3 separate regions of the Homo sapiens genome follow, and all the other regions are linked to region 2. Evidence: promoter capture Hi-C in human tissues and cell types (Jung and others, 2019). All regions are on one chromosome and are shown on one strand. Each heading gives the region's core, a stretch centred on a gene start or on the middle of the fragment in contact. The rest is flanking DNA. Distances are from core to core; before and after follow the strand shown. Region 1 holds the start of CSPG5 (chondroitin sulfate proteoglycan 5). Region 2 has its middle 15 kb from the start of MAP4. Region 3 holds the start of SPINK8 (serine peptidase inhibitor Kazal type 8 (putative)).

The links. Contacts are between HindIII fragments. The study calls those that stand out against the background at their distance.
Region 1: a contact is called between the fragment with the promoter of CSPG5 here and a fragment that was not itself captured in region 2, in 2 of the 25 tissues and cell types used here (lymphoblastoid cells and pancreas).
Region 3: a contact is called between the fragment with the promoter of SPINK8 here and a fragment that was not itself captured in region 2, in 1 of the 25 tissues and cell types used here (stomach).

Annotation. Positions count from the first base shown.
Region 1 is chr3:47,577,556-47,581,814 of GRCh38, forward strand. CSPG5 (chondroitin sulfate proteoglycan 5) reads right to left here and starts at 1,310. Exons shown (of 5, transcript NM_006574.4): 1 at 1,042-1,310; 2 at 1-373. The coding sequence starts at 1,138. RefSeq lists silencers at 521-610, 661-720, 761-810 and an enhancer at 1,935-2,639. The HindIII fragment of the contact is 21,614 bases long and covers 1-4,259 here.
Region 2 is chr3:48,029,350-48,033,598 of GRCh38, forward strand. It overlaps a transcript of MAP4 not described here. Among named protein-coding and RNA genes, the nearest start is that of MAP4, 15 kb to the left of the region's middle. The HindIII fragment of the contact is 3,193 bases long and covers 1,318-4,249 here.
Region 3 is chr3:48,331,788-48,335,588 of GRCh38, forward strand. SPINK8 (serine peptidase inhibitor Kazal type 8 (putative)) reads right to left here and starts at 1,874. Exons shown (of 8, transcript NM_001080525.3): 1 at 1,748-1,874; 2 at 579-684. RefSeq lists a silencer at 2,219-2,419. The HindIII fragment of the contact is 10,965 bases long and covers 1-3,801 here.

The sequences.
Region 1 (4,259 bases), core at 60-2,559, 450 kb before region 2:
GGGGTGGGGGAGGGTGGCCCGCTGGCCTCTGTAGCCTCAGGAATGGCAGGGGGCATGATTGACTGCCCGAGGACCTCGTGGGGAGCCTGGAGCGTAGCTGGAAGGGCCTGGGCATCGCCGCTGCCCGCCTCTGCGGTCACTCCTCCCAGGCCTGGGCTGTCAGCTTCCAGCCAGGCGGTGCCGGTCACCGCAGCCGACTCCTGCAGCACCTCTTCTGGCCCGGCCAGCTCGCCACCGGGCGCCGTCCACGACGCCTCATCTTCCCCAGCCGCTGGTGGGCCGGCTTCTTCCCGCGTGTCGTTGGCAGGCGGCTCCCACGCCGGGCTGCCCTTCACCAGCTCTTCGGCCTCAACCGCGCTGCCCGCCTCACGCGCTGCGGGCGGGAGGGCAAGGGGCGGGACGTCAGGGCGGCGCGCTGAGGAGCCCTGGAGCCCCGGCCCGCCCCGGTCAGGCCCGCTCGCCTAGACCTGGTCAACCCAGACCTCGCCACCCTCAGACCCCACCGCCCCAGTGTGACCCCAGCCACCCGGTACCTCTAAGCCCCGTCCCGGAGTCTGCCCCCAAGACGAGGATCACACCCCGCCCAACGCCTCGCGGCTCGGCCCCGCCCGACCTGCCCCGCCGTCTGAAGAGCCAGGCCAGGGCGGCCCCCAGCTCGGCCCACCCATAAGTCTCACCCTCGGGAACCCACCCTGAGCCGCGTCCACTGGCTCCCGCCCTCAGCTCCAGGTCCCGCCCCGAAGTCTCACCCTCAGGCCCCGCCCCGGCCCCGCCCCGGCCCCGCCCCCGGCCCCGCCCCCAGTCCGCACCGCGGCCCGCGCGCTTGGGTCCCGGCTACCCCAACCGGGGTCGGCCCCCACGCGGGTCGGCCTTTCCCGGACCCCCACCACCTCCTGGGACCATTCCGCCGCCCGGCCGCGGCCAGGCGGTGCCCCGCCCCCTTGCCACAGCTCACAGCTCCACCTGTCCCCGCCGCCAGCGGGACCCCTGCCCTGGGTGGGGCACGAGGGCCGCGGGGGTCCCGGGCGCAGTCATACCTACCCGGCACGGCCCCAGAGGCCAGGACCAGCGCGGCCCCCAGAAACAGCAGCAGTGGCGGCGGCCCCCGGCCCGGGCCCCCGCCCCCGGCTCGCCCCATGGCGCGGCGCCCCGACCGCTGTCCGCGGTCCGCCCGGCTGGCTGCGCCCTCGGCTCGCCCGGCCGCCGCGCCTCCCGCCGGTTCTGCGGCCGCCTCAGCCCACGATGGGCAGCGCGAGGAGCCGCATGCCGCCGCCGCCGCCGTCCGCCGCTGTCCCCGGCGCGCCGCGCCTCCCCGCCTCCCGCGCCGCCGCTGCCGCCGCTGCGCTCAGCGCCGCCCTCACCCCGCCCGCCGCGCCGGCCCCGCCGCACGTAGCGGTGACGCCGGCCCCTTGGTCAGCCTGCCAGGGGAACAGACAGACCCCTCGCTGGGGACTAGGAGACACACGGACGGGGAGTGCGGGGCAGGCGGACGGGGAGCGCGAGGCAGGCGCACGGCGCGGCGCGCGGCGTTAGGCGGCAGGTGCACGGGCGGGAGACCTGTGGGATGGGGCCACGGTCCCGCCCCAGGTGAACAGGCGGCACGGGGCCCCGACCCGGAGGAACCCACCCGCCACGCGGCAAGCACGGAGGCGGGGACGTCGCGGGCCCAGTTACCCGCAGGGTCGGGGCGGGGTCCAGAAGAGCCGCAGGGGGCGGAAGCACGAGCCCCCACTGTGGAAACAAGCCAGGCCCGGGGCGCATGGAGCCTCTCGGATTCTGCACCAATCCCGTGTTCCGGGCGGGAAGGCTCTCAGGGAGGTCTCCGGGTCTCCACGAGGGAGGGGCGGGCGTTGGCAGAGCCTGGCAAGGGGGCGAAGCCGACCGCCCAGGCTCTAATCGGATCAGATCTAATCCGTTCGCAGCCAAAGCCACTAGCCTAGATCTCGCACAGCCAGGCCCGCCATAACGCATCCCGGGAGCAAGGGGTAAGACCCTCCCTGGGACTGCGGCTACCTCGCCTTCCTTCTAGTCTCCGGGCAGCCTGGGGAGCGGCCTTTAATCCTGGTCCCTTCTCCGGGATACGTCGTCCCCCAGGTGTCTCAGACCACCAAAACTCAGGTTCCTGGGTAGACCAGGGGGGTCTAGATCCCCAGCCGGGCACACATGGATGCTTGGCTTTAGAGTGATCTGTGGGGCCCATTCACAGCTTCAGGGCTCACAGGGCAACCCAAGACCACGCACCAGGAGGTCTGCTTAGTCGGCAGGAGGAACCGCAACCTAGTTACTTAGTTTATTCCCCCAAACCGACCGTCTACCCCTTAATGTGTTACTCACCCAAATGACAGTTCAGGGTATCAGCCCAAGGAGATAGGACAACTCCAGTATTTAAGAGACGGTCCCATTGCTGTCTTAGAAGACCAAATAAGTGACCAAGATGGAGATTCTATCTCCTAATCTTTCTGATACATATCTCCAGATGGAGTTGCCTTGGTTCAAAACCTGTTTCTCAGCAGAACTATGGCTGCAGCCTATTTGCCTAGCCTAGCGTCTCCACCTCTCCTGCCTGGTAAACTCCTCATGCCAGAAAAACTCAGTTCTTATCACCTTTCCCTCTATGAAGGCTTCTCAGCAGTTACACTTAATGCCCATCATCTCATCTTATCTACAGTTATTCCTCACTGGACTGCAAGGCACTTGAGTGCACAGGGCTGGTAACAGAGGGAGGCTCCATATCAGACAGGCATAAATGAACGAATGGCAACCACCCACACCCATCCCAGAACTGTGGTCTGGAGAGCCTTGAAAAAAGGGGTAAGGCTCTTTCTTTCATAGTTTCATGCTGCCTCCGGGGACCAAGTAAAATATGTTTGAAACAATAGCCTTCTCTAAACAGGGGACCATGTAGGGCTTTGCACTCACCTCAGCCACAGAGGCAGCAACGCACCCTTAACTGCCTCCAACCCATCTCTGCTTCCCTTGTGTGCAGCTTAACTCCTGTCACCTTTTACTGTATGTAGACTCTCTGTGTTCCTTTGCTTGTTTCCTCAACTCGGGTTGTGGCTGTCAGAGCGGCCTACCTCCTCCTTCCCTTCCTGAGGCCAGTCTGTGTGGGAAGACCTCATGGATGGGTTCCTTGATGTCTGGGGCATGACAACCACTCACACATTTTCAACAGGGTTTAATGGAGGAAGTTCTCCCACTCATTTTAAATATATTTTGTTAATTATTTAAGTATCTTCTTCTTCCCTTTCCTGGAGATGAAGTCTGCTAACGCTTCCTTCAATTTGGAATTTTTTTTTTTTGTTGAGACAGAGTCTCACTCTGTCACCCAGACTAGAGTGCAATGGTGTGATATTGACTCACTGCAACCTCTGCCTCCTGGGTTCAAGTGATTCTCTGCCTCAGCCTCCCGAGTAGCTGGGATTACAGGCATGCCACGCCCGGCTAATTTGGTATTTTTTGTAGAGACGGGGTTTCTCCATGTTGGCTCAGGCTGGTCTCGAACTCCAGGCCTCAGGTGATCCGCCCGCCTTGGCCTCCCAAAGTGCTGGGATTGCAGGCATGAGCCACCGTGCCCGGCCCAACTTGAGACTTTAAATCAATTGTTGCCACTCAGTTTCATTCTGATCTTCCCTAGTGGATCTCACTAGCAGTTTGAGAACTGAGCATAGCACACTTGGTTGGGTAACACCTCCACAAGATGAATGGGAAAATTCAGTCAGTGGAACGTGATGGGAAGGGCAGGATTCAGCTGCAGCGTGACTTTGAGTTAGCAACCTGTCTCTCATATGTGAAAATGCTTGGTAACCAGAGAGTCAAATGAGTATTTCTTCTGAGCACAGGACTGTGGTAGGGTAAAGAAGAGATAGAAGATGTAGGAACCACAGAGTGAAAGAAAGGGAAACTGACGTCCTTATATCCATGTCCCCGTATTTATGTCTCTTGCACCTGGGCATCAGGGATGTTTTATGTGTCAACAGTTTCTTCATGCCTCTGAGGTTCTTACTGGGTTGGCAGCCTGCCTCCAGAGCTCAGGTAGGCTCAAGGTCCATTGCCACGAATGCAGCCAGCCTCCGACTGCATGAAAAACCCCCGGCTTGACCAGGGGGCTGCAGTCCAGAGGAGTGCTCCAGTTGCCATGGCTGGGGGCATAGCTGTGTGGACTGGAAATTCCTGGCTTTAAGTCCTCAGTATTAACCACTAACATTGATATGGTTTGGATGTTTTATTCCCTCCAAATCTCATGCTGAAATGTGACA
Region 2 (4,249 bases), core at 1,664-4,163:
GCTTAAAACCCAGGAGGCGGAGGCTGCAGTGAGCCGAGATGGCGCCACTGAACTCCAGCATGGGTGACAGAGCGAGACTCTGTCTCTAAATAAATAAATAAGTAAATGCATATTTTTTTAAGTCTTACTTCCCTAGGAAGCAATAATCACTAACTCCTTTTTCAGTTTTGTCAATGACCTGAAAAGCTTGGTCCTGACACCTCTGCTTTATGGAAAAGGCAAGAATGCATACTGATTCCTAAGGTAGTAATCTGAACGGTTTAAAATTCCATACATGTAGCTACAGACAACTAGTATAATGGCAGAGATCTTACATGATATTTTAAGATCTAGTTCCAGTAGTAATAAAATCGTAGTAAAAAGAGGTAGGTCGGGCACGGTGGCTTACGCCTGTAATCCCAGCACTTTGGGAGGCCGAGGTGGGAGGATCACGAGGTCAGGGGATCAAGGCCATTCTGGCTAACACGGTGAAACCCCGTCTCTATTAAAATACAAAAAATTAGCTGGGCGTGGTGGCATGCACCTGTAGTCCCAGCTACTCAGGAGGCTGAGGTAGGGAAATCGCTTGAACCCAGGAGGCAGAGGTTGCAGTGAGCCGAGATCCCTACTGCACAGAGCAACTGAGCAAGATTCCATCTCAAAAAAAAAAATATATATATATAATATATGTATTATATATTCATATGTAATATTATGTATTATATATTACATATTCACATGTAATATATATTATATATTTTATATATATGGCATTTCTGGCCAGGTGTGGTGGCTCACGTCTGTAATCCCACCACTTTGAAAGGCTGAGGTGGGAGGATCATCTAAGGCTAAGAATTTGATTTCAGTCTTGGCAACACAGTGAGACCCTGTCTCAATTAGAAAATAAAAAAAAATTTAAACACAGCATTTCCAGTCCTTTCAAACTCAGATGAAGTTTAATTAAAATCTTCAGGGGACACCCCAGTAAAGCAACAGCATACCTCACACCCAGATGCTGGTTTCTAATACCATTCTCTGATAAAGAAACCAAGACTCTTTGGAGAAATGACTAATTCTAGGACTGAGAACAAAATATTCAAGATGAGCCTGAAGTACCTTGTATTTCCAGAAAGTTAGGAAGTGCTAAAAATAAAAATAAAAAAAAAAAAACAACGATAGGGGTAAGTTGGCCGGACGAGGTGGCTCAGGCCTGTAATGCCAGCACTTTGGGAGGCCAAGGCAGGCAGATCACCTGAAGTCAGGAGTTCAAGACCAGCCTGACCAACATGATTAAAACCCGTCTCTATAAAAAACCCAAATATTAACCAGGCATGATGGTGGGTGCCTGTAATCCCAGCTACTCGGGAGGCTGAGACAGGAGAATTGCTTGAACCCAGGAAGTGTAGGTAGCACTGAGCCGAGATTGTACCACTGCACTCCAGCCTGGGCGACAGAGTAAGACTCCATCTCAAAAAAAAAAAAAAAAAAAAAAAAAAGATAGGGGTAACTCAATTACACAGGAGTCAACTAAAAAAGTTCCCAATGACCAAAGCTGGAACAATATAAACAATAGACTGAATAAATAAATGAGAGAGAATAAGCAAGTCTTCAGTGAAGAATTCCAAACAAGATACTCCACTTCCAAGAGGTAGAACATAACCCTTCATCCTTTACATGTGCATAGCACATAGTGACCTCCTTCTAAAGAGTACAATATGAAAATGGGAGGGGGGGGTAAGAGAAATATGACAAATACTACCTAAGCCAAGTGATCAAGACTAATATCAATAGTGATAAATCAGCTGGGTGCAATGGCTTACATCTGTAATCCCAGCACTTTGGCAGGCCAAGGCAGGAGGTTCACTTGAGGCCAGGAGTTCTGACACCAACTTAGGCAAGCAACATGGCGAAACCCCATCTCTATGAAAAATACAAAAATTAGGCTGGGTGCGGTGGCTCACACCTGTAATCCCAGCACTTTGGGAAGCCAAAGTAGGGGGATCTCAAGGTCAGGAGATTGAGATCATCCTGGCTAACATGGTGAAACCCTGTCTCTACTAAAAATACAAAAAGTTAGCTGGGTGTGGTGGCACATGCCTGTAGTCCCACCTACTTGGGAGGCCGAGGCAGGAGAATCACTTGAACCCAGGAGACGGAAGTTACAGTGAGCCAAGGTCGCGCCACTGCACTCCAGCCTGGGCGACAGAGCAAGACTCCATCTCAAAAAAAAACAAAAAAACAAAAAAATTAGCCAGGCATGGTGGTACGTGCCTGTAGTCCCAACTACCCGGGAGGCTGAGGTGGGAGGATCACTTGGGCCCTGGAGGCCAGGGTTGCGGTAAGCCACGATCGTGCCACTGCAACCCAGCCTGGGCAACAGAGCAAGACTCTTTCTCAAAAAAAAATTAGCTGGGCTTGGTGGCATGTGCCTATGGTCCCAGCTATTTGGGAAGCTGAGTTGAGAGGAAGCTTGAGTCGAGTCCAGGAGGTTCCAGTGAACTGTGATCACAGCACTGTACTCCAGCTTGAGTGATAAAGCAAAACACACACATACACACACACATACACACACACACACACACAGACATAAATCATGCTGACATGATTTGATAGTATGCACCCTTGATATAATGTGATAAGAGTGGCACTTTACCTCTGTGATCTTCCTTCTAAAAAGCATAACCTCTGTCTAATCATGAGAAAAAGATCAGACAACTCCCAACTGAAGGACACTCTACAAAATATCAGACCAGTACTCCTCAAAACTGTCAAAGTCATCAAAAACAAGGGAGGTGTAAGAAACTGTCATAGCCAAGAGAAAGCTAAGTATGATAACTAAACATAATGTGGTATCCTAGATGAGATCCTAGAACAGAAAAAGGTATTTAGGTAAAAATTAAGGAAATCTAAATAAACTATGAACTTTAGTTAATAATAATGTATGAAAATTGAGGTCAGGAGTTCGCGAGCGGCCTGGCCAACATGGTGAAACTGCATTTCTACTAAAAAAAAATAATAAAAAAATTAGATGGGCATGGTGGTGTGCGCCTGTAATCCCAGCTACTAGGGAGACTCAGGCAGGAGAATTACTTGAATCTCGGAGGCGGAGGTTGCAGTTAGCCCAAGATCGCACCACTACACTCCAGCCTGGGCAAGAGAGCAAGACTCCGTCTCAAAAAAAAAAAAATTAGCCAGGTGTGGTGGCAGGCACCTGTAATCCCAGCTACTCAGGAGGCTGAGGCAGGAGAATCGCTTGAACCCAGGAGACAGAGGTTGCAGTGAGCTGAGATTGTGGCACTGCACTCCAGCCTGGGTGACAGAGAAAGACTCCTTCTCAAAAACAAACAAAAACAAAAAATTCTAGTAATAACCATTATTTACTTCCAACTTAAATCTGATCCACGACCTAAAACTGCACTCTGAAATAATCTACAATTCCCCTGAGAAACTTAATAAATATAGACAAAAGTGTGTATATCAATTAACTTACAAGTCTCTAATCACTGCAAACTAGCTGACTCTCGTTAAAGCTTCAAATCTTAAAGTTCTACCACTGGTACTCTTAGAAGCTAACTTACCCTTGTTGATCACAGAGAGACAACAGTGACCAAGTCTAATAAAAGCTTATTCATGTACACAGAAACAAAACAAAGTAACTTGGTGATGTGCACATCTAATATTTCCAACCAAATCACAAAACTTTAGAAAGGGCATTTGAATCCAACCTCCTTATTTTAAAAGTGAGAAAAGTCCAAGGAGATTAACAAATATATTTGTTCAAAGTCATCCCTGAGTTCTCAACTAAAAGTAGAATTTCTTTTCTGTCCTATATCCCAAATCAGGAAGCAAGGGGAAAAGGTAGGAGGTATTATCATTCTGATCATCATTTCCTCTGCTAACTTAGAATGCTTTCGTTTCTCAGGGATAAAGAAGGTAAGTCCAGCTATATCTATGTATTGGAAATAGCATCACATAGCTCTCCTTTTTAAAATGGCATGCCCTCCTCATGTGGATTTTTATCTTCTATTTAACTATCAGTTATCGCACTATGCTTCTACAGTTAGTATCTATGATGTGAAAGTTGAAGCCCTGGTTAAAGCTTCTTAAATCTACCATTTTATTTTGTACAAACAGAAAAGTATATTAGTTTTCTTTCCAGCTGTCCTTAATTTTTTTAATTGAAGTGAAGTTTACATAACATACAATTAACCATTTTAAAGTACATTATGATTTCTCTCCAGTTTCAAACTGTCCTTAAGAATTTTTTTAT
Region 3 (3,801 bases), core at 624-3,123, 300 kb after region 2:
ACCCCTCGGATAGTGACAGATCTGGAGGACAGTTGTCTGGGACAGGAGAGTAAGACTGAGAAGGCCGCGCTAGTGTCCAGCAGACAGTTAACCTCCTGGCCCTCAGTGGTCAAGCATACCTGGGGAGGGTGATGCCAGGGGCTGGCGCTTGCCCCAGGCACCCTCAGTCCTGCTGCTGGATCATCTGGTTAGTGGCTTCTGACTCAGAGGACCTTCATCCCCTGGGGCAGTGGGCCTTCCAGTGATACCCTTGAAATAAGGGGCATGGATGAGGGGGTGGCTTATTTCTATTCGGACAATCTTTTTTAAAGTGTCCTTGTAGACCGCACTGGAATCAAATCCCTATTAGGCATTCGATTTGCCCAGCCTTTCACTTTTCCAGAGCCTCCAAAGTCCACTTGCCTGAAGGCCATGACTAAAGCGGTGGCCTTCTTTTTATCCCGTTTGTCCAGTTCTGCCTGCTCCTTCTGATCTCTATTATAAAAACTGAGGCCAAGTTCTTAGTTTAAGTTTTGTTCCAGGCCTAAGGCGGATTTTGAAGTTTTTTTCTAATGTCTGCAGCTGAGTGATAAACTTACCCTTTAAGATTAGTTGGCCTTCAATAGATCCAGATGACAGAGAGGTATGCTTCCTCAATGCCTCCCTTAGTCTCTCCAGAAAGGCAGTAGGATTTTCTTCCTTTCCCTGTGTTATAGTGGGCATCATTGAATAATTCATAGGCTTCTTCCTAGTTTTTCTTAGTCCTTCTAGCATGCAAGTTAGCAAATGTCTGCGGCACCAATCTCCACATTCTGATTCTGCGTCCCATTGAGGGTCTACACTGGGAACTGCCTGCTGGCCTGTGGGGAATCGTTCTCTTTCCTCTGTTGTCATCCTATCATTGACCTGACTGAGATACCAGAGATTGCCAAACTCTTGGGCTGCAGTTATAGCGGCACTTCTCTCATTTGGGGTTAGTATCTGATCTAGCAGTAACATTATGTCTCTCCATGTCAGATCAAAGGATTGTCCTAACCCTTGTAAAACATCAATATAGCCATCAGGGTTATTTGAGAATTTACCTAGGTCTATTTTAATTTGCTTCAAGTCTGAGAGGGAAAAAGGTACACACACTCTGGGCTGAATTCTCCTCCTCCCACCACTTCAAGGGGGCATAATCTGGGAATATTGGCACTCTTTGGTTCATTGTTTACCCCTTTCTCTATCTCCTTTGGCACCGTTTGTGTTGAAGGGGGGTCATTATTAGTTGGGGAAGGAGCCGGGGGAACGCCGGGGCAGGGGGGTAGATTCTGAGGGCTTCCTGTAGGGCATAAATCACACTTTTAACATAATTGTGAGTTGTCTCTTAATGAAAAGAAAGTTTGCACATATGGCACTTCGCTCCATTTGCCCTATTTTCTACAAAAGAAGTCTAGCTGTAAGATGGTGTTATAATTTATACTTCCCTTGGAGGGCATGTTTCTCCCTCTTGAAGAGGATATTGTGGCCAGGGGTACTGCAGAAGAATATAAGTCGTTTCTTTCTTAGCATCTGAGGGTCAAATTGGTCCTAATTCTCTAGAATACATCTTAGGGGCGTTTTTGCCTGGGAGGGGGGAACGTTTAAAAAGAACATAGGGATGCCAGCACCCCTAGTCATTTTCTGATGAGCATTAGTCCTAGAGCGTCCTCTGTGGTCCTAATGCTTATTCCTTTTCAGGGTGCGTAACCACCCACGGACCTCTGCTTATCAGATTAGTTACACTCACCGATGTAGCAGTCCTGCACCTGTTTTCCTGCCCTTCTTGACCACAAAGAAAGGGGTCTGGGCTGCTGGATTCTAGTGGTCCTTTACCAGCGTGCCTGACATTGCCTTTGCACTCAGGAGTGAGTTCTAGAGCTGGGCTGGGTTTCTGAGTATTTCATAACAACCCAGTTGCCCCATCAAGATGCATTTTCATAAACAACAGTTCTTATGCAAATTCGTTTCAGAGAGGGTGTAGGTAACCTTTTGAGTCAGGATTGAGATAGAGTTTTTGCCCACTAGGGCCTTTGTCCTTTTCCTTTGTAGGAATATGCCTTAATTATCGAACTTAAGATTTTGTTGCCCTGGATTAAGTCCTTTTGGGTACGAAATATGAGAGATGGCTCCTGTTTATCCTATGTGCCTTTTTCCTACGAGAAGGAGAGCGAGGAGAAAAAGATGGGCTTGCTCTTTTTGTAAGTACTTTAAGGCTTGGCTGAGTGCAAACAGCTCGCAGTTTGTGCAGACCAATTATGAGGCAATTCTCCTAACTCTGCTTCCACAAGAGTTTCCTTATCAATTACTGAATACCCATTGTGGTTTTTTCCTCAATCGCCTGGGAGGAACCATCTATCGTCCTATCCTAAAGGAAGTTCCTCCTAGGTCTGGTTGGACCTTTGCATGGCAATTAAGATTTAAATCCCCTGTTAGGAAATCTGCTGGGTTAAGGGAATTATCAGTGGTTGGTGTTAAATCACCTTTTTCTAACAGAATAGCCCCATACTTTAAGAATTTTGAGCTAGTAAGCTACCTTTTTTTTTTTTTTTTTTTGGTCTTAGGATTGTTCTGAACTGGTGAGGTGTGCTCACAATGAGGTTTCCTCTAAAGGTTATTTTTCTACTTTATTCTGTTAGCAAAGCAGTTGCCACTACAGATTGAATGCATTTGGGCCATCCACGGGTTACTGGGTTCAGGATTTTTGATAGGAAGGCTATGGGTTGTCAGTGGTCTCAGTGTTTTCGGGCTACGCCCTTGTTTACACTGACAACAAGGTAGTATTGGAGTATTATAGGGTCGTGGAGAAGACCTTTAATTATCAATTATAGGTTCTAAATTTACCTTGGCTTTTAAAGGAATAGGGTACACTGTTTTTTCTTTACTACCTCTCTCTTTCCCTTTTTTCTTTCTTTCTCTCTTTGACTTTCTGCCTCTTCCTCTCTCTGTCTGTCTTTTTTTAGATGGATTTTGGAAACGCAGTGGAAGGACGTTCACTTGTTGCCCCAGTTTGCCACTATAGGAACATGTGCCTCCCTTTAATTTACTCAAATTCGTTTTCATCCTGATCTATTATGTTGTTGTAGACTCAGTTCCAGTTGTTAAAATACTGGGTTATCAGTTCTAAGGGCCTGGCCAAGGAGCCAAGGCTTGGAGATTGTATTGCAGGGGGTAGTAAACTGGGTAGAAATTAGGGGAGGAGAGCATCTTACACAATGGGAGAGCGATCTTCCTAGCTATTTACAAACTTGGGGCCCTGGCAAGGGTGGTGGGGAATGGGTCCCACATAACAGCCCATGTTGACAGCTATATACCTAAATTGGGAGGGACACCAGGGGCAAGACTCCCTGGGTTCATAGCCTAGATATCTAAGGCCACAGCATAGAGCTTCCTTAGATCTCTTTGGAGATACAACTTGCTCTAATACTTGGGAGAGGAAATGAAAGTCTGAAGCATTAGTACCTAGGAGGCAGGGATTGGAGGAAGTAGATTCAGAGGTAAGGAGAATTTTTGGGGCTACACTTTCAAGAAAGTCATGGTCGGGACCCAGGAGGTATGGGTCAGAAGGAAAGGTAGGGGTGCACACGTGGGCAACTGTTGAGTAGAGACTTCTGGCTGCACCATGATCTCAACCAGCCAATGCCGGGAGTTCAGGACGACAGCTTTCTGCCTCTAGTCGGCCCTCGGCTTCCCCCCAGGAAATTGTGAAAGCGGAAGCTGGTTCCAGGCAGACCAACGCTCCTAACCCCAAAGGGTTGGGGGTTGTTAGAAAGCCTTTTCCCAGAAAGCCTCACAGCTGAGTCT